Linked DNA regions of Homo sapiens: all the other regions are linked to region 4. The links are contacts of gene promoters, found by promoter capture Hi-C in blood cells and fetal thymus (Javierre and others, 2016). All regions are on one chromosome and are shown on one strand. The core of a region is centred on a gene start or on the middle of the fragment in contact, and the rest is flanking DNA. Distances in the headings are between cores, read along the strand shown. Region 1 holds the start of ZNF32-AS3 (ZNF32 antisense RNA 3). Region 2 holds the start of FXYD4 (FXYD domain containing ion transport regulator 4). Region 3 has its middle 32 kb from the start of ZNF32. Region 4 holds the start of TMEM72 (transmembrane protein 72). Region 5 has its middle 57 kb from the start of ZNF32. Region 6 overlaps ZNF32-AS3 (ZNF32 antisense RNA 3). Region 7 holds the start of ZNF485 (zinc finger protein 485).

Region 1 (3,830 bases), core at 127-2,626, 1.3 Mb before region 4:
GGCAAAACCCCAAGAAACTTCCTGAAAGGTTACGGTAATAGTAAAACAAGTTTTTCCATCACATCTGTAGCTTGTGTTGAATGAGATGTATTGATTACAGTCGCCATCTCGGACTATGGCAAAGCTAGGGAGGTTAGTGGCCTGAAAACATAAAAGGAGTATAATCAGTAAAATCAAGAAAAACTAGGCAGGCTGGCCAGAATTACTGGGAAGAGATAGAAATTAGAAAACAAGCAGAATTGTAGAGTGATTTGCATTCTTTAATCAAAGGAATGAGGCTCTCTAAGAGTAAGGTGAGATTCAGCACTGCAGAAACACAAGTCTTGGTCATGGCTGGATTGTACATTCTGTTGTCACTAAGTCCCTGACCCTATGGCAACGACATCATAATGACCCCAAATGCAAGTAAAGTAAACAAAATCAGGGCAGGGCTACAGGTGATCTGGTGAACTGGACTTGGTGGATGGTGTGGAAGGGACTTTGGGAGAGACCTGTGCCCATGATAAAAGGGAAGATGAAGATGTTCCTTTGAGTTTGCATGTGTGGGGCCTTTTTGGCATGGTTGACTTGTCTGTACTCCTTCCTGTGACTTGACATCAAAATTAGGTAAGAAATCATGTATTTATTCATCCTTGTTGACTTTTCTAGTTTTCTGTGGCATTGATTCTTGAATGGAAGCCCTAGCAATGAGGAACTTGGCGTGGAAAAGGAGGACAGACATGCACTGTCTCAACCCCCTGTGTAAGGAGTAGGGTAATCCAGGCCACCTGCTGCTTGGAATTTTCTTCCTGCTCTTTTATTGCCCTGAAGGGAGTTTTGGGTCTGCCTAGAGAGTCTGGTAGGGTTGAGAGTCAAACTGTGCAGCTGGTAAGAAGAATGGGCTGTAGGCTTGTTAAAACACAGTGTGCTGTCTCTCCCTCCCTTTTCCGCAATCTCCGCAGTTTCGGGGTCAGTAGGTCTGGGATAGGCCCTGAGGATTTGCATTTCCTATAAGTTCCCAGGTGATGCTGATGTCCTCAGGAACCACTAGGTTGGATTTATATGTATTTCTGCAGAAGAATGTTTTTGATACCGTGGAGGATACACCCCAAGTGTTATGGGTTCAATTCTGTCCTCCAAAAAGATATGTTGAAGTCCTAACTGCCAGTACCTCAGACCATGTCCTGCTTGGAAATAGGATCTTTGCAGATGTAATTAGTTAGGATGACATCATAGTGGCATAGGGTGGGCCTTTAATCCAATGTGACTGGTGTCCATATAAGAGGTGGAGAAATGTAGAGACACAGACACATGGGAGAAGGCCATGTGATGGCACAGGCGGAAAGTGAAGTCCTGCAGCTGCAAGCCAAGAGCGCCAAGGGTTGACAGCAAACCACCAGAGCTAGGGACAGGCAAGGAGGGGCTCTCGCTACAGTTTCAGAGGGAGCACGGCCTCGATTTTGGACTTCTAGCCTCCAGAACTGCCAGATAATAAATTTCTGTTATTTAAGCCACCTGGTTTGTTGTACTTTATTATAGAATCCTTAGAAAAGTAACACACTAAAGTTACCTTCAATGGGTCACGCCCTTGTGTAACCTCTCCCTTTGTGGGAATAACCAGAGACTTGCCTCTGATAGAATATGGCAGAGGTGATGGGATGCCACTCCTATGGTGGTTATGTTATATAAGACTCTGGAGACTCTCAGCAGACTTGGAAGATAAGCAGACTCTTAGCAGACTTGGAAGATAAATTCTCTTCTGTTGGACTTGAAGAGGCAAACTGCCATGTGGTGGCAGAGAAGTTTAAGTGGCCTGCAGGACCTCAGGGCAAACTTCAGCTAATAGTAAGAAGCTGGGACCCTTAGTACTACAGCCATCGGGAAATGCATTGTGCCACCATCTGAATGGGCTAAGGAGGGATCTTCTCTAGTTAAGACCAGATGGACACGGCTTGGCTGGCAACCTGATTTCAGGCTGGTGAGACCCTGAGCAGAGTTCCCAGCTTGGCCCCTCCTTAACTTCAGAACCACGCAAAATTGTGAGATAATGTATTTGTGTTTTTCAACCTGCTAAGTTTGCAGTAATATGTTACTAGAATGTAAAGATAGATACGTTTATTAATGAAAAAAGAAAAACTAAACTTCCAAACGATGTGTATAGAGTGGTCCTTTTTTGTTTAAAAAGAATGAAATAAGAAAATATGTTCAAATTCCATGGTTTGTGTAAGTATATATATCAAATAGTATATAGAAATACACACGACCAGTATACTGTGGTGTGTGTGTGTGTGTGTGTGTGTGTGTGTGTAACTTTGGAGTGATGTTATTTGGAATGATGTAACACTTGGGATTTTGGAGTAGGGAGATTATTGGCTTTTTTAAGTATAACTTTTTCTTTGGAAGTGGTAAGGAGCATGTTTAGCTTTAATGGGAAAATCAGATAAAGTTTATTAAAGAGAAAATTAATGTATGTTGTTGGTCATTTTTGGTTATAAAAATAATGTATGTTTATTATAGAAAAACACAGAAACAAGAAAATAAAAGTTTATTATGGCCCTTTTGGCCAGAACCACCGTCTTCCAGTAATTCGACAAAATGACAAACACAAAGGGAAAGAGGAGAGGCTCCTGGTAGATGTCTTCTAGGCCTTTTAGGAAGCATGGAGTTGTTCCCTTTGGTCACGTATATGTGAATCTATAAGAAAGATGATATTGTAGACATTAAAGGAGTGGGCACTGTTCAAGAAGGAATGCCCCACAAGTGTTATCATGGCAGAACTGGAAGAGTCTACAGTGTTACGCAGCAGGCCGTCGGCATTGTTGTAAACACACAAGTTAAGGGCAAGTTCTTGCCAAGAGAATTCATGTGGGTATTGAGCACTTTAAGCGCTCTGAGAGCTGAGCTAGCTTCCTGAAACTTGTGAAGGAAAATGATCAGAAAAAGAAGGAAGCCAAAGAGAAAGGTACCTGGATTCAGCAGAAGTGCCAGTCTGCTCTGCCCAGAGAAGCGCACTGTGTGAGAACAAATGGGAAGGAGCTTGAGCTGCTGGAACCTCTTCCCTATGGATTGATTCATGGCATAATCGGTGTTAAAAAAAATAAAATAGAAGACCTCTGGATTGTAAAAAAAAGAAAATTATGAGCACCCCTCCAGAAGATAAACACTATGTAATCCTTGCTTTTAACAGTTCACCTTTTAAACATTATATTTAATAATATATTTAATATTTTGTATACACAAACATATATAACACAACACATGTAAACTACGGAACAGTGGAGTAAATTGTGTGTTGATGTTTATGGACTTTAGCAAAAGCGCCGGCCCAGTTTGTGTTTGGTCTCAGAGCCTCTTTGGGGTTGATGGAAGTCATATTCACAGTGCTGAACAGTCGCAGCCGCTGCTTCTGAATTTTGTCCCACCTTGTGTTTATTTCCCTCCCTTTCTGAATTCTCTGTTTCTATCTGTGACCCTAACCCCTAAGAACTCTCAGGAACAGTGCTCCCTTGGCTGGTTTAAGCTAAAATTTCCACCCTGTGGCAGAGGAGATCCAGTGGTTCTCTTCTGGAGTTTACTTGTCACCACCTTTTATTTCCTGGGAAAATTTGATTATGAGGTTGGATAGTTTGTTTAAAAAAAGTCTGTTAATGTTTAATCCACACGTTCAAACCTAAGGAGCTCTGGAAATAATTTTTTAAATAAAAAAAATTTTAATATGAAACAATTAAAGGGCCAGGCACGGTGGCACACACCTGCAATCCCAGCACTTTGGGAGGCCGAGGTGGGAGGATGGCTTAAGTCCAGGAGTTCGAGACCAGCTTGGGCAACATAGGGAGACCCTGTCTCTACAA
Region 2 (3,552 bases), core at 408-2,907, 1.5 Mb before region 4:
TTGACTATTGTAGATTGACAGGCTAATGAGAGTATGAACCTCCAAAGACTTCTGTGAGGGCTAGGTGCAGTCATATATGCAATGAACTCAAGTAAACAGCTGGCTGAGGAAACACCGGGACGCCTCCTCTGTGCTAAGCCCCATGCAGCATGCACACAGACACAGGCCCACCTCAGCCTCCCAAAGTGCTGGGGTTACAGGCGTGAGCCGCCTTTCCCAACCAATATTTTATATTTTTACACAAGTGACAGCATCCTATTCAGACTGCCCTATACTTTTTTTCCACTTAAAAGTATGTCTGGGCCAGACATAGTGTCTCACACCTGTAATCCCAGCATTTTGGGAGGCCGAGGCAGTGGATCGCCTGAGGTCAGGAGCTCGAGACCAGCCTGCTCAACATAGCGAAATCCCATCTCTACTAAAAATACAAAAATTAGCTGGGCACAGTGGTGTGTGCCGGTAATCCCAGCTACTCGGGAGGCTGAGACAGAATTGCTTGAACCTGGGAGGTGGAGGTTGTGGTGTGCCAAGATCGAGCCACTGCACTCCAGCTTGGGCGACAGAGCGAAATTCCAGCTCAAAAATAAATATATAAATAAACAAACAAACCAACTAAACCATCATTGCCCTCCCCAGCCCTCCCAGCCCAGAGACCCCCATCCCTTGTCAGCCATCCCCCCTTACCTTCTGGACAGGGACAAGTGTCCCTCATTTGGAAAAGAATTAAGGAGGGGTAACAGCAGACTAGGGAGGCCTGGGGTCCTCCACACGCCTGTGTGGGGTGACTTTGGCCCCCAGCAACAAGGCAGGCCTGAGGTCTGCAGAGGGAGGCAGCCCACTCCTCAGCCGGGGGCGTCTATCCTCCTCCTGGCCCCATCCCTCACCTGTGGGGGAGGCTAAGTGGGTGTCAGGGCCCTGTCAGAGGGTGAGCCACCCCCGGGGGTGCCCATCGGCCACCAGCCTCCCTTCAGTAGACACCCAGCCCAAGTGACAGCAGTGGCATGGCACTGCTGAGCACAGGGAGCCTCAAGGTCAGTGCCTGGCTCCTGGTATCCTCCGTGGTCCCCAGGACACCCCCACACAGAGGTCCCAGAACCCCCAAAGCTGGCACAAGAGCCCAGGAACACCCTGCCCAGCACCCTCCAGGTCCCTCTTTTAGGATCTGGGTGAGCTAAAGAAGCCAAAAGAAAGGCTGGGCGCGGTGGCTCACGCTTGTAATCCTAGCACTTTGGGAGGCCGAGGTGGGCGGATTGCCTGAGCTCAGGAGTTGGAGACCAGCCTGGGCAACACATTGAAACCCCATCTCTACTAAAATACAAAAAAAATTAGCCAGGTGTGGTGGCGTGCACCTGTAGTCCCAGCTACTCGGGAGCCTGAGGCAGGGGAATTGCTTGAACCCAGGAGGCAGAGGTTGCAGTGAGCTGAGATTGCATCACTGCACTCCAGCCCGGGTGACAGAGTGAGACTCCATCTCAAAAAAAGAAAAAAAAAAAAAAAAAAAAAAAAAAAAGAAGCCAAAAGAGGGTCTTCGGCCCAGCCCGCCCCTCCCCAACAGCCCTGGGTGTGGCAGGGAGCCTGACCAGTTCCCTCCAGCCTGCGTCATGGAGCCCTGGGCGTGGCTGCAGGGTTTAAAGAGCCGACCCACGTGCCCAGCAGCCTCCTCAGATCCGTTCTCTGCGCTGCCAGCTCAGGTGAGCCCTCGCCAAGGTGACCTCGCAGGTGAGCAGGCGTCCACTTTGGGGCTGCTGGGTGAAGGGGGTGGGTGCCCAAGAATTCTGAGTAATGAGGAGCCTGTTGAGGGGTCTGAGGACAGATATGGCTGCAGCAGCCGCTTGAAGGCCTCCTGCTTTGCACCCACTATCATATGGATGGTGGGTTGGGGGTTGGAGGAAACAGAAGCCAGCCCTTGGCTAAAGAATATATGAGCTGGTGGGGTATACCTCTGGTCCCAACTGCTTGAGATACTCAGGTGAGGAGATCACCTGAGCCAAGAGAGTTCAAGGCTGCAGTGAGCCGAGATCACGCCACTGCTCTCCATCCTGGGTAACAGAGCAAGACCCTGTCTCAAAAAAAAAAAAAATAGTAATAATAATAATAATAAAATAAAAAATGTGACCTAGAGTTGAGACCCTCGTATTCCAGGAACTCCAGGTTGGTGAAGGTAGAGAGACCAGTGAAGGCTGGGGGAAGCCAGCTTTGGAGACTGCTCCTAGCCCAAGAACCGATGTTCAGAAGCAGTGCCTAACAGTCTCTCCCTCCAGTGCCTCCCTCCCACTGCAGAAGGACCATGTGTTTATTTATGGATGTATTTATTTATTTATTTTGAGATGGAGTCTCCCTCTGTTGCCCAGGCTGGAGTGCAGTGCCAGGATCTCGGCTCACTGCAACCTCCACCTTCCAGGTTTAAGTGATTCTCCTGCCTCAGCTTCCCAAGTAGCTGGGAATACAGGCGCCTGTCACCACACTCAGCTAATTTTTGTATTTTTAGTATAGATGGGGTTTTGCCATGTTGGCCAGGCTGATCTTGAACTCCTGACCTCAGGTGATCCACCCGCCTCAGCCTCCCAAAGTGCTGGGATTATAGGTGTGAGCCACTGCGCCCGGCCTATGGATGTATTTATTGTAACAGGTTTTTAGTGCTTACTGTGTGCTAGGCATAGTTCTTAGGCTTGACAAATAGTAGTTCACGTAATTCCATCGCTATAACCTTATGAGGTTGCTACTATTCTGATGATCCTCCTTTTACAGGACACTGGTGAAGGAGCAGTGAGGAACCTGCAGAGTCACACAGTTGGTAAGTTGCTAAGAAGGGACCCAGCCCAGACAGCTGGCCCTGGATCTGTGATCTCATCAGGAGGCCAGAGCTGGGTACAGCAGATGATGACAATGGCTTCAGTATTGAAAACTTGACCACACTAGGCTAACAATATGCAGAGGGCTGGGAGGGGGCCTGCGCTCAAAGACTCAGCCTCCCTAAGGACAAGTAAATGGGGTCCTGGCTACTTCCAACCTGAGGGGGAAATGTCATACCACAGGAGGTCTATACTCTGAGAGCAGAATCTGGGTCTGCTGGAGTAGGGTCCCCTGCCAGGGCTGGCAGGGGAGGTCCTGGCTGCTGCAGTCATCTCATCCCAGGACTCAGCACTCCCTCCCTCCTCCACACCCTTGCTTTTGTGGAGGCTCTCTGGGAATTCAGACTGAGGGTGCTGGACTCTGGCCACCCCAGGCCCAGACCTTTGGGAACAATAGCCTGGGGCCTGATAACAATGCCCTTTGTGTGGGGTTAGGAAGGCAGGCTCCAGACCCTGACTTAGAATAGCAGCCACCTGACCCTGGGCATCTGATTACACCTCTCTAAGCTCCATTTTTTTTTTTCTTCTCTGAAATAGAGACAATAATAGTATCTTCCTCATGGGGAGGAGTAGGGGGTGGGTTTGTCGCATGGATTTTAACAACGCCTTCTACAGCACTTACTCTGTGCAGGCACAGTTTTGAGCTCTTAGCTTGTGCTTACTCAATCCACACAACTCCCCCAGGCCACCACCATCTCTA
Region 3 (3,267 bases), core at 674-3,173, 1.2 Mb before region 4:
CCTGCTCTGTCTCCCCATCTCCATGCTGCCCGCCACGTCTCTGCACAGGCCCTGGCCCTTATAGAGGGTCTTCCTCAGCCTTGCACTTCGCTTCCTGCTACCTCCCAGCACCGTCTCAGGCCACCAGTTGTTAACATTTGGCAAACACCCTTTCATGTAAATTAAATCCTACTCACACATACATTTCGACTGATGGAAATATCTGTCTATGATCTGGATTTACGACAACCTCTGGATTTACAATAACCACTGGTTTTCACACTACTCCTAATTCAAGGGGATAAACCCTGCCAAATGTGGTGAACAGAAAGGGAGGTAAAAGGAGTTGAAGGTCTCCCAAGAAAACGCAGTCTCTTCCACAGTTTGGTGTAAGTGCCGTGACCTCTGCTATCCTGTGTGTTGTATTTGTCCTTTGACTAATGAGGTTTCTGGGGCTTGGCTTTAAGGATCCTTTCTATAGTTGGAATTATTATTTTTATTTTTTATTTTTATTTTTAAAAAAGTATTGATGACTTTGTGGTTCCAAATGACTTTTTCCTGGTACATCAAAATATGATCTTTTTAGTTACTGTTTTTGTTTAAAGCCATAGTAACATAATTGAATTACAGTTGGGAGTAGCCATTTTGCAGAACTTTTAAAAATATCGAGCCAAATCTGTTTGCCATAGCACTTTATAACACTAGGATTAAATACTCTTTGACAAATGTTTTAATTGCTGACAAGTGCAACTTAGGGAGGCGGTTTTGAGGAGTTTTGGCTGGTGTCCCGGTGCCTGCTGTCAAGTGCTGGCATGGCCCAAGGAGCTCTGGTAACCAGGAGGCGGGGAAACCAGAGCATGCTGACTTGGCATGGCCCAAGGAGCTCTGGTAACCAGGAGGCGGGGAAACCAGAGCATGCTGACTTGGCCCGGACTTCTCCTAGGTTCGGAGTCTTTCTGTGCCTTTCTCCTCATGCCTGTTTGGGACATGACAGGACTCACCATGGCTCCACTCCCCAGAGTTCTGCTGGGATGAATGGAGTCAACCGGGTGAGCCCTGGATGAAGGGTGAGGCTCATGGTAGGGATTCCTTCCTCACTTCCACCTATGGTTTGAATGTCCCTCCAAAGTGCATGCTGAAATTTAATTGCCATTTTAACAATATGAAGAGGCAGGACCTTTAGGAAGGTCTGCCCTCATGAATGGATTGACGCTATTATCTTGGGAGTGGGTTCGTTATCACAGGCGTGGGTTCCTTACTAAAGGGTGTTTGCCCTGCCTTTTCTGCCTTCCCCTACCCTCTCTCATCCTCTCCTGCCCTCTTACCTTCCACCATGGGATGACTCAGCAAGAATGAGTCACCAGATGCTGGAGCCTTAATTTGCACTTAGCCCCCAGACTGTGAGAGAAATTTCTCTCCTTTATAAACTACCCAGTCTCGGGTATTTTGTTATAGCAGCACACAATGGACTGAGGCACTTCTTCAACACATCATGTCCCTAGCACAGACTGCTCAGACTTCTATTCAGAATTACTTCTGTGCTCATGTATTCAGTACAGAAGAAGTTGTTACTTGACTCAAAGTTATTTTATTTTTAAAATTAACATGCAGTAAGTGTGACCTTTTGGGAATGGGCTGTTCCACCACAATCAGGACACAGAATTGTTCCATCTCCCCCAAAGCTTCCTGATGCTGTTCCTTTATAGTCACACTGTCCCTTCCTTCACCCCCAGCCCCTGGTACCCACTCCATGACTATAGTTTTGTCTGCTTTGAGAATGTCATATAAATGGAATCATAGAGTATGTAACTTCTGAGACTGGCTTCTGTTACTCAGTGTAATGCCTTTGAGATTCAGCCAGCTTGTTGCATGGATCGGTAATTTGTCTTTTTACTGCTCGGTAGTAGTCTGTTGTATAGAGCTCTGATGGATAGGCCTGGCTGAGCCATCCCCCATGTCTTCCAAGTCACTAGATGTGTCAGTGAGGTCAGCTTGGTCCCTCCAGAAGAGCCTGCTTGCCAGCTGAATACCACCAAGTGATCTCTGCAGTGCCATGTGGGACAGAGAAGTCACCCAGCCAAACCTTGCCCAATTTCCCCAGCCACAAAAAAATGAGACATAAAGAAGCAGTGGCTGTTTTTACCCACTAAGTTTGGATTTGTCTGTTCCATGATTGTGGATAACCAGAACACACCCCAATGGGTACTTAAGCTTCACAGGAATAAGGATCACATCTCTTGACAACCTAAAACTTTGGATCCAGTGGTGCTCAATAAGCATTTTTATTTTTAAAAACCAATTTCCTCTCTGTGCTTGGCAAGACACTTTATAAATGTGTGATAGTGATGAGGACGTGGAATTATCTCGATAATTTCCTTGATGATAAGAAAATTATCCACTAGCTATCAAATACTGTTAAGTATGTTAGTCGTGGACTCCCTCATGAGTTGTGGGGACAATCACTGGAGCCCTTTGGGGCCCTGGGAAGAGGAAGGAGCACAGCAGATGCTTCAGGCAGAGCGCCAGCCTTGTTATTGGCTTGGCTTCCTCCTCCATCCCTGCAGGTCCTGTCGCCTGTAGTTTTCCAGGAATGGGTGTTTTGGGGCCTTGATTCTTCCTCAATGAAGCCCATCCTTCCTGGTCCTCCACCATGGTCCTCTCAACCATTGCAGGTGTCTCCCTCACAGTGCAGGGAGTGACAGCACGGACGCTGCAGCCAAGCAGGCTGACATTTGAATTCTACTTTTATCACTTACTGGATATGTAAACCTTGAAAAGTTTCCTAAATCCCCAGAACTTCAAATTTCCCATCTATAGGATGTGCATAAAAACACATACCTCAGAGGATTGTTTCGAGGATTAGGTGTAGTGATACATGTGGAGCCTCTAGCCTGGGCTGCAGGCGAGGGCACAAGAACTCTCTGTCTCTGTGGAGCAGGGTCGTGGCACCTGGCAGCATGGGCTATGAGGAAGGAAGGAGCCCAGTGGGTTCAAGGACTGGACGAAGGGCCAAGTGGTTGGAGCGCTGAGCCTGAGGGCCGAGGGACATAAAATGAGGTTTGGGAAACTCATAGGGACTTAATCAGGTGGGGTCTTGCAGCTGCATTGAGGATGCCAACTTTTTATTCTGGGAGCAATAGTCAGCCAGGGCTGTGGCTAGTTTTGTTCTTTGAAAATTTAGACTGCAGGGTTAGAGGTGTGCAGATTAAAGGTGTGCAACAGAGGATTCACAGCAGCTCAGGCAAGAGCTGATGGTGGCTGGTACTAGGGAAGTAATGGTGAAAAAGT
Region 4 (3,594 bases), core at 116-2,615:
AAAAAGAAAAGAGGAAAGAAAGGAAGGGGAAGGGGAAGGAGAAGGGGAGGGAGGGGAGGGGAAGGGAGGGGAGGGAAGGGCCAAACTAATTGTTCTTGAGTTTTCCGTTATTATTGGCAGACCTTGGCTTTCCATGGTTCAACTTAGGATGGTGTGAAAATGATGTACATTCAGTAGAAATTGTACTTTAAATTTTGGATTTTGATGTTTTCCTGGGCTAGCAACATGCCCTACAATATATTCTTACATGAGCTACTCCACACTTTATAACATAAACCTTGTGTTAGATGATTTTGCCCAACCATAAACTAAGTGTTCTGAGCACATTTAAGTAGGCCAGGCTAAGCTCTGATGTTCAGTAGGTTGGTTGGATTAAGTGCATTTTTAACTTAAAATATTTTCAATGTCTGATGGGTTTTTTGGGACATAACCCCATCATAAGTTGAGGAGCATGTGTATTGGGTTTGCTTGGAGTTTTTTTCCTTATTTGGTTGTTTTGTTTTCTATCTTATATGAGCAAAGGGGTAAAAGATTTCAGAAAAACACCTGAGAGATAAATCTTAATACCATTCAATCTAGCACATCCGTTAGTAAATTAAGAATGAGGGAAAGCCCACCACTGTCCAAGTGTAAAGGCTGGGCTCCTTGAAACAGCTACAGGGACACTCCAAGTACATCAAAAACACCAATTCAGCCAAAACTTCACATTTATTTTCTGCAAAAGTTACCAAGGCTCACAGATGCCTTTGGGTTTCCCCAAGGTCACCCGGTTAATTATTGACATAGCAACTCCCCTCGCAAAACAAAGAATCAAAATGATTTCCCACGTCCCATGTTGGGATGCATGTTAATGAGGAAGGAAGGCCTCTGCGTGGCGGGGCCTGAGCTAAGTATGTCTAGTCAGAGTCCAAATCCGGGACAGATTTGAAAAGCTTTCTAATCCACCTATACGCAGAAGAATAAAGCTTGGAACTCATTTCAAAAGTTGTTTCTACTGGTGATTTAAAGACACACTCCTCTCTCCCATATGCACATAAGCACAGACCTGCAAGAGCACTGTCCCCTCCAGAGCCAGACACTACAGGCCCCCAGCAAGTGTGAAATCCAGGTGTGACTTTCTAGGCATGGCTTGGTGAGGAAGGGCCTGGCCCACTCCTTGGCTCCCTCCTCCCAGCCAGAAACGGTTAATTGCCAGCTCCAGACTGCCTCCAGCCCAGCCCTAATCGCCGATCTCAGGCGGCTGGGCTGCGCTGGGGCTGAGCGGCTCCAGCCCAGGCTGGGGTTGTGTGAGCAGCAGGAGCATTCTTCCAAGGTAATGATTAAGCTGAGTGCCTGGCAAGGGCACGGGCTGAGAGCACAGAAGGTGAGCCCTATTCACACCTCGGCCAGGCTGCGGTGGCCAGGACTGGTTTGGGAAGGCAGGGCCCCGGTGTGCAGCCACAGCCAGCAGCCTCCTACCTACACAAGGGTGTTCGGGAGCATCTCAGGGCCGAAGACTTTGCTGCCTGCCCTGCCAGGACTTTGTCCTCACCCCTGGCACCATGCAGCTCCAGGTGTTCTGGACTGGGCTGGAATACACCTGCCGGCTCCTGGGCATCACCACTGCTGCAGGTAAGACCCTGCCTCCTGGCTGCTGATCCTTGCACACTGGCACCACAGATAGGGCTGCCTGAGGGGTGGGAGGTGGCCAGGAGACAGCAGGCACATCTGGCCACTTCTGTGCTTCAATTTTTTTCCCAAGACCCCTAGAAACACTGCTCTGTAGAGCAGCAGCAAGTGCAGTGGGGTGAGCCTAGGGCTGGGGACCAGAGGGCTGGGTGCTGGATCTTTGCTTGGCAAGTCACCCTCCCTGTGACCTTGGGAAGCCTCAAGATCCTCATCTGCAAAATGATTCCAGGGGCCACCCCACCTACGCAGAGAGTTGTCATGAGATGGAGGTGGAGACAGAAGGTGAAGATAGAAAGGGCTGGGCTTCGCTGTGTATCTACAAAAGGTCAACTGAGCTCATCCTGCTTTACTCAAACCATAGCCCTACCTCATGGAGAGAGAACTCCCAGTCATGAGCAGCTCTGCCCTGGAGGGACAGGCTGAGCCTGGCTGGACGTGGAGATCACAGGCTTCCCTCGGGCCCATGCTGGACCCTGTTAACAGAACACCCTGTAGGAACCCAGACCCCTGTCTGAGGTCTGACTGCAGGAATGCACTGTGGTCTTAGCAGCAGAGATGCTTCCCAGAGATGCTGGGCTCCTTCCTTCACCCAGCAGAATCACAGGGCTGCTCAACTGGACAGGAGGGCAGACTGTTAGAGCAGAGCCCAGAGCCACCATCCTGAGCCCTGCCTGCTCGCTTCCCCAGGGCAGGCCTGACCCTTAGCCCCATTCCCCCTACAGAGCCAGGATCTGTTTTGGGGAAATGAACAGGCAGAATTCTGAGCCCTTAACTCTGAGCCACATTGTCCCTTGGGGACAAAGAGAGACACACCCCCTATCAAAGCCCTTCCCCACCACTGGGCAAAAGCTTACCCACGGGTCTTACCAAATGGGAAAGTTCTCCTAGGTCAAAATCACATAGTGCTTGTTCCTGCCCCAGCCTAGTCACTTGCGTGATATATGACCTTGGGGAGCCCCTGACCCCTCTGAGGCTGCACTTTCTGATCTGTATGATGGGGACCTGCTGGCCAGGTGTTTGGACAGATTAAGGATGCAGGAACTGAGCATGGCTAAGTGGAACTGAGGATGAAAACCTCTCAGCAGAAGCCCCCATGACACACTCCAGAGCTCAATGGGAAGCTGGGTCATTTCAGGAGCACTGGGCTGGGTTCAGCCGTGAGCTGGCCAGTGGGCTCTTCCAGCATCTAGGCCATGAGTTAGATCATGAAGGGCTGCTGGATGGTTTAACCCCACCCCTCCTGCTACAGGATGGGGCACCTGAGCTCAAATGCAGGTGGTGACCTTGCCCAAGGTCATGGTCAGAGGGACAGCCAGCCCGGAGCCCTGGTCCTTCAACTTTCACAAAGGCCAGGGCTCTGGCCAAAACCTTCCCTGTCTTCCAGAGTAGGCAGCAGGAAGAGGTTCAGAATTGCTCTGCTGAGGCTCTGAGTGGAGGCACTGAGGGAGGAGCCAGATCCAGCCACTTTCAGAACCACGTTGTCGTCTACACATAAGAGAATGATGGCCAAGACCCCCAACAAGCAAAAAAGCCATCCTGGGGAGAGGAAGGCCACCCTAAATAGGTTTCCATGTCTGTTGATCTGAGTCCACCCTGCTCCCTCTAGGCTTTGGTTTCCAAATCTGTAAAATGCCAAGAATCCCACAGTTCCCCCAGCCACACTCCACCCAGAGCTGAGGCCCACCTCCCGTCGAGAGGCTGTTCTAAGATGTATGTACCTATCCTTCTAATGGATTAGCTAGAGACAGTTTAACAGTCTGATTTATCTCAGTCACCGGAAGAGTCTGCAGCCCCTGACACTCCCATGTGCACGCACACACACACACACACACACACACAAACCCGTGCGCGCGCACATAGGGCTCGTCTTAACCACAGCCTTTATCTCCGCACAGGGACTGCTGTTAATGCTGAGAATGGGCCTCC
Region 5 (3,548 bases), core at 94-2,593, 1.2 Mb before region 4:
AGCTTCTGGGCTCCATGTTATGGGGATTCAAGGAGAAGGACACTAGCGGTGACCTGAGGCTATTGTAGCCCTGAGTAATCTCTCTTCCAACTTGTTCTTAAAATACACATCAAAGTACAGAAAACAGCCAAAAAGCAACACAAAAACTGCACAGGAACAGTGTCAACAATTGTTAGCCTTGGGAGGGATTTCCATTATCTTCAAAAATAATGAGACACTCTCGGGCACATTTGAGGACATTTTCATTGTTAGTGGCTCAGTTGGCCAGAGGCATGTAGGTGAGAAGGGGCCTGGTGGCCCAGTGGCCATCACTGAACCTGGCAGAGCCCTGAGAGCACCTTACCCTCCCCTGGGGCAGGGACTGCTGCTCATCTGTCCTGAGCCTGGGCCTTGCCTCTCCTCCTCCCTGCTGGTTTGCAATGTTGGGGAGGTAAGGGGGAGGACATGTCCCACTGAGTCCTGAACCATGTGGTCCCCGAAGGTACAATGCTGCTGGCCGGGCGGAGGGAGGACTGGCATGGCTTTTTCTTCCGTGTAGCCTATTTGGTGGAACAAAATAAGCCCCTTCCTGTATTCACAAGGGCATACATTGACCCTAAGTGGGTCAGAGAACCTGCCTTCCTCAGCCCAGCCAACCACACCCAATGAGTGCCTGTCTCCAAAGCACTGACATCGGGACTGGGGGTGAACCCACTGTGCCTTCCAGCTTTAGCTCTTCAAGGGGTGTTCAGCCAGGGGACCCAGGGTGGCAAGAGGGTGAAAGTGTGCTGTGTGTCTCTGTAACAAGGTTTTTATGGAGCACGGACCAATGGAACCAATGAACATCTTCTGAACCGAATACACTGACTATAGTTGAAAATACAGTGTTTGAAAAAAATATTTTTAGGAAGAAATAAAAAAGAATTTAAAGATCCATATTTCAAATTCTCAGTGAGCAATGGGGATATAAGATTATTAGAGGAGCTCAGATAATGCAGAGGCTGAGGCACAAGCCCAAGTGAAAAGCACCCCAGACAGGAGGAAAAGCTTCAAAGGTGCCCACCTGCAACAGCAGAGCCCAGCGCTCCACAGTGGCCATAAAGGAAAGAACTGAAGCCCTAGAAACACATTCCAGTCAGTAGAGCAAATTCGAATTGCTCTCATAGAATCCACAGGAAAAGGACAAAGGGATGAAAGCAATGAAAAAATACAGCCATCAAGGAGGCTAGTAAAAGGAGAAGCAGTCTTCGAATAACATGGCCTATCATGAGGAAGAACGAGAAATAACTGCAAAGAAGCAATAATGAAGGATAGAACATTTGAAAACTTTCTTGAGCTGGGAGAAAAGAGTGCTTGGTCTAGAGACTGACTTACATAACGATGTATAAGGCAAATTTTCTAAAAAACAAAGCTATATCCATTACTTTATCAGTGATTAAAAATAGGTAATTTAATTGACAAATTAAAAACAGGTATAGAAACATTCAATCTGAGAGCACATGCTGCTCAGAAATGAATAAATTGCTTGTCAGGAGGATGTCAGACCCGTTCCCAGCAGCAAGTTGCAGAAGACAGTAGGGCAATGTCTCCATTTTCAGAGAAATCATTTTCTTATCCCCAATTTGACTTTGTATATTAAGACAGCAAATCCCTTCTTACGTGCAAGGGCTCTGGAATTATGCTAAGCTTTATGGTGTTATAACTGAGAGAATAATCAACCACAGGAACTCAGGAATGGGAAGGTCAGTTCACAAAAGTCTACCTTGTTGTCAGTTTGGGTGAAAGAGCCAGAAAGCAGCATGAAGACTGAAGATACATAATGAACAAAAACTGTAGCTTGGTAACCATGACATGGCTCTTTAATTTCTGATGAGTGAGAAATGTCTCTAAGCCAGGCAAGGTTCAGAAGCCAAGGATGAAGACAAAGAGAGCTCCTGGTTTTCTAGAGTTGCACTTCCTAAATAGTATGCTAGAGAACAATGATTTTTTATTTTTTATTTTTAGACAGAGTCTCACTCTGTCGTTTAGGCTAGAGTGCAGTGGTGTGATCTCGGCTCCCTGCAACCTCTGCCTCCCGGGTTCAAATGAGTCTCCTGCCTCAGTCTCCCAAGTAGCTGGGATTACAAGCATGTGCTACTATGCCTGGCTAATTTTCGTATTTTTAGTAGAGATGGGGGTTTCACCATGTTGGCCAAGCTGGTCTCAGACTCCTGGCCTCAAGTGATCCACCCTCCTCGGCCTCCCAAATTGCTGGGATTACAGGCATGAGCCACCGCGCCTGGCTGAAAACAAAGAAATCAGTGAGATGATTTCAGACAACAGTAAAGTTACAAAAAAAAAATAGCACAAGGTGCTGATAGGGAGGATGGAGAGAGCGGAGGCTGCTCACAGTGGTCAGGGGATGCCCAGGAGGTGACAGCAGTCGCAGTGTGAGGCTGCCACTCACCCTCAGGGAGGGGTTTCCAGGCAGCAGGGGTGAGGGCAAAGGCCCTGATTGAAAGGAAGCTGATGTGGGGCCAGAAGGCATATATGTGGGCAGAGAGGCAGGCAAAGGCTGACCAGAGAGCCCTGGCCACCATGGTGGGCACATGGATTTTGTCCTTAGGGCCACAGGACACCGTTGAAGGGTACGAGTGGAAAAGTGACCCTCTGAGGCTGCGTGTGGGGCAGGCTGTAAGGGCTGGCACGTGCCGGGGCCCAGGGCAGGGGGCTGTGGGCTGATGTGGGCTGTGCTCATGGCCTGAGGGAGGAATTCAGGAAGATTCTGAGCCTTTTGGCCTGAACAACATGTTCTGAGATTGGCGAGTGGGAGATAAAGAGGTTTGGGAGGAGTGAGGGGAATTAGCTGTGGGATTTGAGGAGGGCCCAGGCCTGAGCCCTGTGTTGATCCAGTATTCAGAGAAGGGAGAGGAGTGGGGCCCAGCGAAGTAGGCGGGGAAGGGGCCAGCAGTTTGTAAGGAGAGATGGGGATGACATAGAATATATATATATATATATGTATTTTTTTTTTCTTTGAAATGAGACCTATCGCCCAGGCTGGAGTGCAGTGGCGTGATCTTGGCTCACTGCAGCCTCCACCTCCCGGATTCAAACGATTCTCCTGCCTCAGCCTCCCAAGTAGCTGGGATTACAGGCATCTGCCACCACGCCCAGGTAATTTTTCTATTTTTAGTAAAGGCAGGGTTTCACCATGTTGGCCAGGCTGCTCTTGAACCCCCAACCTCAGATGATCCGCCCGCCTCGGCCTCCCAAAGTGCTGGGATTATAAGCATGAGCCACTGCGCCCAGCCCAGAATATTTGTTTTTCAGTTAGAAATGTATTTGGCTTCTAGTAATGGAGACCAAACATAACAATGATTAGAATCAGATAGACATGTTCTGGCCTCTATTAGTGAAAAGTGGGTTGTGTGCTTAGGGACAACAGAGTTGCCCCACAGATATGAGGGACACTGACACCACCTATCTTTATGTTTTTGTCAGCTTTAGAACACAACTTCTGTCCTCAAGGTCAACTCAGAGTCTGTGGTGGCTGCTGGACCTCCAGCCATCACATCTGTATTCTCACACCT
Region 6 (3,523 bases), core at 817-3,316, 1.3 Mb before region 4:
CACCTGTGTGTGGCACAGCTTCTGGTTCTGGCTCATTGCTCAGTGGCTGACAGTGCTTCCCAAACGACTAGCCCCAAGCCTGTCTCAGAGTCTCCTTTTTGGGGAGGCCAGCAGAAGATGCCATGTGCACCAGGTGACTCAACAGCACCCCCAGGCTCATGGGGGGTGTCGAAAGCTTGTGGTGGCCCCGAAGCTACTTGAAGTAATGGGGAATTCAGGAAAATCACTAAACTCCAACAGGAAGGGCCAAGGAAATGGATACAAAACACATAATGCACACACACACACGTAAGTAATGGAAGAGAAGATAGTATCATTTTAAACCAGCGTTTAAGATCATGAGCTAAATAATAAAGAATAGAAACAGGTGGGAAAGTGGACGGAGGGAAACCAAAAATCATTAAAGACTTACACTTCCATAAAGGGCAAACCAAGTTTTGTGTGTTCATTACCAGTATATTTATTTATTATTATTTTTAGATGGAGTCTTGCTCTGTCACCCAGGCTGGAGTGCAATAGCGCAATCTTGGCTCACTGTAACCTCTGCCTCCTGGGTTCAAATGTTTCTCCTGCCTCAGCCTCCTAAGTAGCTGGGATTACAGGCACCCACCACCACGCCCAGCTAATTTTTGTATTTTTGTTTTTTAAAGTGGAGATGGGATTTCACCATGTTGGCCAGGCTGGTCTCCAACTCCTGACCTCAGGTGATCTGCCCACCTTGGCCTCCCAAAGTGCTTGGATTACAGGCATGAGCCCCTGAGCCCAGCCTAGATATATTTTAAATGAGACTGATACTGTTTTAGGATAATAACTCTAGGATCAAAACTGGGCTGATTTCTTGGCTGACCTTAGTAAAAGATGGAAGCAAACAAGAATGTGGCTCCCTTATCCCAAGACAGTAAATAGATAAGGAAGATGAAAAGCTGGGCCTGCTCTGCAGGTGTCCATGGTAGGCACTGCCAATGGGGCGGGGGCTCCCTCACCTCCCACGATTTCCCTACACGGGTCCTTCCAGCTTTCCTGTTAATCATTTAGTAGATCTGCCACCTCCTTCTTCTCTCTCCATCACTCCGCACCATCTGTGTGAACTTTTTCTGGATTTCTGGATGGGCTTCTAAATGTTGACTTGTCTAAAATATACAAGTATTGTGTATATTAGGCACCCAATAAATTCCAAACCATAACGAATACACAAAATCCCCTAAAGACCGGCTTGCGGCCGGGCGCGGTGGCTCACGCCTGTAATCCCAGCACTTCGGGAGGCTGATGTGGGTGGATCACTTGAGGTCAGGAGATCTAGACTAGCCTGGTCAACATGGTGAAACCCCGTCTCTACTAAAAATACAAAACTTAGCTGGGCGTGGTGGTGCATTCCTGTAATCCCAGCTACTCAGGAGGCTGAGGCACGAGAATTGCTTGAACCTGGGAGGCGGAGCTACAGTGAGCCAAGATCGTGCCACTGCACTTCGCCTGGGCAACAGAGTGAGAACCTGTCTCAAAAATACCAAACCATAGTGATGGTTTGGTATTATATTTATATTTGAGCACCACTATGCTCAAATATAAATATAATTTAAAAAATGGGCTTGGAAACAGTCCACGTCTGTCGCTCTTGGTCACAGATGTGTGTATGTAGCCATTGCTGCATAGAATCTATAATTTCATCCTTTGTAGTAGGCATTGTTCTTCCCTCCATGGTTTGGAGAGGTTACCACACATATCCAAGATCTCACAACCAGTGAGCAGTCGATGTGGGATTCTACCCAGGTCTGACTCAAGTACCTTGTTCCTTCCAACTCACCAGGCTTTCATGACGGGATATGCATTGGGCAGCAGCAGAATAACCAGAAAGCCTTTGCCAAATAGGATCACAGGCACTGACACCAATATTAATATTAAAAGGGCATGGTTTAGTCAACTGCAATTGGCAAAATATGTATAAACAGCATTTAACAAAAATTATTATCAATATTAAGGATAATGTCTTTGAAACTTTATGAATTTTGTTACTTTTTGACATAAAGACATAAGATGTAGAGTTAGGAGCAATTTGACAAAATATGTTAGACAATTTGACTCACCATTATTAAAGTCAAGCTGGCAAAGGTAAGTAGAAATTACAAAAATACAAAACAGAATTCATCGATAGATTCTGACTTTGGAGCCTTTCTTTGAGACAGGGTCTCACTCTGTTGCCCAGGCTGGGGTGCAGTGGAGATCATAGCTCACTGCAGCCTCAACTTCCTGGGCTCAAGCCACCCTCCCACCTCAGCTTCCTGAGTAGCTGGGACTATAGGCACATACCACCACACCATCTAATTTGTAAATTTTTTTGTAGAGACAGGATCTCACTATGTTGCTCAGGCTGATCTCAAACTCCTGGGCTCAAGAGATCCTCCCACTGCAGCCTTCCAAAGTGTTGGGATTACAGGCGTGAGCCATCAGGTCCTGCCTGGGGACTTTCTGGTGTCTAAAATGTTTACAAAATATGGTAAATCATTATGACATAAAAAGGATCAAAGCATTAGAAAATACAAAGAAAATCAGCCAGGCGCAGTGGCTCATACCTGTAATCCCAGAACTTTGGGAGGGTGAGGTGAGCAGATCTCTTGAGGTCAGGAGTTCAAGACCAGCCTGGCCAACATGGTGGAACCCCGTCTCTACTAAAAATATGAAAATTAGCCTGGCATGGTGGTGCTCAAATATAATTAATTATAACTCAAGTATTTTGGGAGAAATACTTTTATGAAGTCAAATTTATCATTTTTTAATGATTTAATGTTTCTGTGTCCTAAGAACCCTTTGCCTACTCTAATTTTTTTTTTTTTAAGAATCTCCTGTGTTATCCTCTAGATGCTTTATGGTTCTAGCTTTTATTTTTAGGTCTATAACCCATTTTAATTTTTGTGTATGTAGTGACGTAGAGGTCAAAGTTCATTTTTTCCATGTGAATAATCAGTGCTTGAGCACCATTTGTTAAGGAAGACTTTTTTGGGAAAGAAAGCAAAGGCCCTCTCTCCCGAGGGCTTCTGGACTGAATGCTAACAGCAGTCTGGGCTAGCTAAAATTATAAAAGACAACGCAACCAAATATAGGCAAGAATATATAGCACTGAACTCTCAAATATTGCTGAAAGGAGTATAAAATGGCTGGAGAACTTTAGAGACCTTTTGTTAATTTCTTATAAGTTTCAAGATACATCTACCCTATGGTTCAGAAATTTCACTCCTAGGTATTTGCCAACAGGAATAAAACACGTCTACAAAAAGACTTGCACAAGAATGTAGCCTTATTCGAATAACCCAAAAGGGAAAACAACCAAATGTCCATCAATAGTAGAATGGATATACAAACTGTGGCACATTAATACTATGGAATAGTAGTCAGCAAACAACAAAAGGATGCTCACCTGACTCGCACAATATACATTGATCTCAAAAAAACATTATGTGGATTGAACGAAAGCAAGACACAAATACAGACAATATGATCCCATTTATATGAAGCTCAGGAAGAGAAAAAT
Region 7 (3,392 bases), core at 653-3,152, 1.3 Mb before region 4:
CTGTTTTCTTCCCAGTGGACTGTTTGTTGGTAGAATAACCCCCAAAGCTCAAAGCTAAAATGCATCATTAGTCCTCGTCGGCAGTTGAGCTGATTTGGAAAAGCTGCACCTTCCTGCAGAAGATCAACTGACCTGCTATCCCACTGCACATCTGAGGTATATTTCAGTGAAGGCAGGTAGCTGTGCTTTTCAGAGCAGAGAAGCAGTTTTAAGAGCAGAAAGGTAGAGGAAATCTAGAAAAGAACCGTCTTGATACAGATTTATCCCATGGTGTGAAGGGAGGGCAAAGAACCCAGTGGCACTTCGCTTATCCAGCAATTTCTGTCACTGTGGCGACAAACTTCTGCCCATTCCAGAGGGTCTTGAACTGCTCAGGAACTGGGAATTCATTAAAGTCACCGCCTTCTGTAGGAATGAGGACATTCATCTCAGAAGATTTGGCACTGGCTATTTCACAATCCAGGGAATTCTTGCTCAGGTAAGCATGGCAGCCATCTGTTTTGTTGATGGAAATGGTTGGCACTTTACTCATCACCTGAACTTTGACATCCCTACTGTTGATTATCTCCACAATGCCCACCATATCATCGAATACCAGACCAAGTTTCTTACAATTATCTACTGTAATGGAGTTAATTTTGCCCTTGATTTGCAACATCGTGTTGACACACTTGTATATGTAAGCCGCCTGTTTCAGCTCTGTGTCATCAATCACCAGATTGGAAACATTTTCCTGATTTTCCACTCTCCACTTCTTGCCCTCCAGTTCAAGTACAGCTGGCTCCTTCTTTGTGGCTGGTTTGGGGTTTAGGTGCAGAGAATGGCTTGGGGCCACTGCGTACTGGACCACTCTGAGCCTTCAGGGTAGGGTTCTTGTGAGTCTTCATGTCATCAGATACACGTTTCAGGGCATGTGTGATGCTCTCCCCCTGATTAATCTGCGCAAACAGTGCTGAGAGGGAAGCGGACTCATCTGAGCCTGAACTGACAGAGACTAGTGGAGGAGGGGGGCCTGGTGGTGGGGGAGGAGTAGCTGATCCAGCAGAGGGTCCAGATGGCAGTCCACTCAGTTCTTTTGTCACAGGCCCCGTTTTGCTCCAGGCAGTCCGGTGGTATGGAACTCCTTAATGTAAGCCTGCAGCTCTGTGCATATACTTAAATAAGCTTTGACTCAGTCTACATGCTTCTTATCCACATCTTTGTACTCTTTAAGGACTCAGTTTGTATAAAACACAGCAGCATGATTCATTTCTTTCACATAAGGGCCAGGATTGGGAGCCATAGCCACCCAGCCTAGGGCCTGGATACTTTCACTGACAGCTGACAGCTGATTAAACAACTTGCTGCCTCGGTTCTTCTCCCAAAAGGTTATCACTTCTTTGATCTGCTCTGAGATAGGTGCCAACAGATCGGAAAGCTTATTACCTGCCGGCTATTGACACTGAGAAGCTGTAACCAAGAGAGCTCACTCCAACTTCAAAACTGTGTGTACCATCTCCACATCTTTCTGCACGTCTTCCCCAATCTCTTTACTGATCTTCAAGTACTCTGCCACAGGGCAGGCAAGCAGCGAGTCAAATGCCTGCGCATATGGAGCTGCTCCTGCTTTTGAAGGACTATCTCCATATCCACGGTGCATGTCAGAGGTATGGGATACTGCCTCCAGGCGGCCCACTGCCCTGTCCAATTTTTTACCAGATTTTGCATGTCAGTCATAATGTATCACCTCCCGACTGCGATCAGCCGCTCTCCACTTCCCGCACCTTCACTTTTCAAAGATTCCCAGGTGATGCCAACCTGCTCTGCGGATGGAGCCCCTAAGACCCCAAGCGGCCCAGACTACGTTTCCCAGAGGCCTCCGCGGCCTCAGCCACTTCCGCTTCCGGTCCAGCCTGTCTCCGCGTGGTGCGAGCGCTGCACCAGCCCCTGGCTGGTGGTTACTGTCCGAACGGCGTGGTGTGGTCGCTGACTCTCTGGGCGTGCAGCTCCGCAGCCCTGCCGGCTCGGTTCGGTTCGTGAGCGGCCGGGGTCAGGCTGGGTCCCTGAAGCCTCGAGCCCCTGGCGGGTGCTCCCCGCCTTTCCCAGGGGCGGGTCGAGGGGCGAGCCGGGGTGGGAGGGGAAGGCGGCGGTGGGCAGTGCCCACCCGCAGTGGCTGCGCCGTGTGGAGCGACCGCTCGAGGCTGGTGCATCACAGAGCGCTCCAGCCTTGCGCCCCGGCCGACAGATTGGGCCACTGACAAGGCCGTCCCCCGGTGCTGCCAAAAGTGTTTGGCGTGGAGCTGGCTGCAGTCCAGGCCGGATCCCAGCAGCCGTTCCCTTTCCTTTCTTCCCGAGCGTACCCACCTGGACCTGTCTGCCCACCTGTGGAGGGAACGGGCGGGCGGGGACCTGGTCTAGAGGGCAGATTCTAGCTAGGCTAGGGCACGGAGGGACTTCCTCAATTTCCTCTCTTCTTTCCCAGATTGACTTACGCAGGATTCTCAGCCCTTGCCTGGGAGAACAGTTCAGGAGACAGATGGCCCCAAGAGCCCAGATCCAGGCAAGTTTGATTTTTCCATTTCTTGAGAAACCACGTGTTTCAGCGAGGTGGGGTTTATGCCTCTTGCCCGGACAATGCCCTGCCCTGTGTGTGGACAAAGCTACCCGAACCAATCCTGGATGGGTCCCGCGATTTCCGTCCTGTCTACCCATTACGTAGTCATTCACCAAGTAGATTATTGCTACCCATGTTTTCTAGAGTGCTAGAAACAGAAAAGTGCTTTGCAAACTGGCAGACGATGAAAAAAATACACGTTAGCATGTAAAGACGTAGGCCATAAAGACATAGGGTGATAGCAGTGCTCTCTTGACCTTTAGTGTGTGGTAGGGTGGGAGGGGTGGAGTAGTGGGCGCCTTAGTTCTTCCTGAAGAATAAATGAGATTTGCATAATTGCAGAGGATACTAGGGGAAAGCGCTGCCTGAATGAAGTCATTATGGCGGGACCATGAACAAACTGGTCTGAGAAAGTTGGAAACATTCATGGTCTAGAATCCCAGACTGGAGTTTGCTTTTATCCTGGAGAAAACTAGGTTTTGAAGGATTTTGAGAAGCTGATTAAATAATTGGTATTTTGAAAGGAAGTGATAAACATTTGAGTGTCTATTATACAAATAAAATTAAAAAAATTAAAGATCACCTACATTTCTACTGCTCTAAGTCAAGTAATTTCATTTGAAACACACTTTTCATTTTTTTAAGGCTTACTCATTTTTTCTTTTAGTATTTCATAGCCATTCCAATTTGTTCTAGTTTCATTACCACTTTTTGTGGCTTCCTTTTATACTGTGCCTTCAACCAGCCCTGGGACCTTGAGCAAGTTCTTCCAACTCTCTGAACCTTTGTGTCTTTAGCT

What was found. Contacts are between HindIII fragments. The CHiCAGO score rates a contact against its expected background, and 5 or more counts as called.
Region 1: a fragment that was not itself captured here is called in contact with the fragment with the promoter of TMEM72 in region 4 in 6 of 17 cell types (total B cells, total CD4 T cells, M2 macrophages and 3 more); the score reaches 7.8 in total B cells.
Region 2: a contact is called between the fragment with the promoter of FXYD4 here and the fragment with the promoter of TMEM72 in region 4, in 1 of 17 cell types (M0 macrophages). The highest score is 7.4, in M0 macrophages.
Region 3: a contact is called between a fragment that was not itself captured here and the fragment with the promoter of TMEM72 in region 4, in 16 of 17 cell types (total B cells, M1 macrophages, M0 macrophages and 13 more). The highest score is 18.9, in total B cells.
Region 5: a contact is called between a fragment that was not itself captured here and the fragment with the promoter of TMEM72 in region 4, in 11 of 17 cell types (naive B cells, total B cells, activated CD4 T cells and 8 more). The highest score is 13.3, in naive B cells.
Region 6: a contact is called between a fragment that was not itself captured here and the fragment with the promoter of TMEM72 in region 4, in 16 of 17 cell types (M2 macrophages, total B cells, non-activated CD4 T cells and 13 more). The highest score is 15.2, in M2 macrophages.
Region 7: a contact is called between the fragment with the promoter of ZNF485 here and the fragment with the promoter of TMEM72 in region 4, in 9 of 17 cell types (M0 macrophages, erythroblasts, total B cells and 6 more). The highest score is 12.0, in M0 macrophages.

The regions. Positions count from the first base shown.
Region 1 is chr10:43,628,373-43,632,202 of GRCh38, forward strand. It overlaps ZNF32-AS3 (ZNF32 antisense RNA 3), which reads left to right and starts at 445. Exons shown (of 5, transcript NR_038867.1): 1 at 445-606. It overlaps LOC124902416 (a long non-coding RNA gene), which reads right to left and starts at 3,112. Exons shown (of 2, transcript XR_007062132.1): 1 at 2,946-3,112; 2 at 2,410-2,673. It also overlaps the pseudogene RPL21P88. The HindIII fragment of the contact is 5,917 bases long and covers 1-3,830 here.
Region 2 is chr10:43,369,979-43,373,530 of GRCh38, forward strand. It overlaps FXYD4 (FXYD domain containing ion transport regulator 4), which reads left to right and starts at 1,658. Exons shown (of 9, transcript NM_173160.3): 1 at 1,658-1,719; 2 at 2,749-2,794; 3 at 3,537-3,552. The HindIII fragment of the contact is 9,288 bases long and covers 1-3,552 here.
Region 3 is chr10:43,678,906-43,682,172 of GRCh38, forward strand. No RefSeq gene overlaps it. Among named protein-coding and RNA genes, the nearest start is that of ZNF32, 32 kb to the left of the region's middle. The HindIII fragment of the contact is 529 bases long and covers 1,660-2,188 here.
Region 4 is chr10:44,909,972-44,913,565 of GRCh38, forward strand. TMEM72 (transmembrane protein 72) reads left to right here and starts at 1,366. Exons shown (of 5, transcript NM_001123376.3): 1 at 1,366-1,611. The coding sequence starts at 1,542. All of the region lies in intron 2 of TMEM72-AS1 (TMEM72 antisense RNA 1), which reads right to left. The HindIII fragment of the contact is 1,552 bases long and covers 964-2,515 here.
Region 5 is chr10:43,703,805-43,707,352 of GRCh38, forward strand. No RefSeq gene overlaps it. Among named protein-coding and RNA genes, the nearest start is that of ZNF32, 57 kb to the left of the region's middle. The HindIII fragment of the contact is 639 bases long and covers 1,025-1,663 here.
Region 6 is chr10:43,658,682-43,662,204 of GRCh38, forward strand. The region is part of intron 1 of ZNF32-AS3 (ZNF32 antisense RNA 3); the gene reads left to right. Among named protein-coding and RNA genes, the nearest start is that of ZNF32, 12 kb to the left of the region's middle. The HindIII fragment of the contact is 3,787 bases long and covers 174-3,523 here.
Region 7 is chr10:43,604,536-43,607,927 of GRCh38, forward strand. ZNF485 (zinc finger protein 485) reads left to right here and starts at 1,903. Exons shown (of 5, transcript NM_145312.4): 1 at 1,903-2,011; 2 at 2,462-2,539. The coding sequence starts at 2,516. It also overlaps the pseudogene CAP1P2. RefSeq lists an enhancer at 1,609-1,658 and a silencer at 1,939-2,218. The HindIII fragment of the contact is 2,214 bases long and covers 1,416-3,392 here.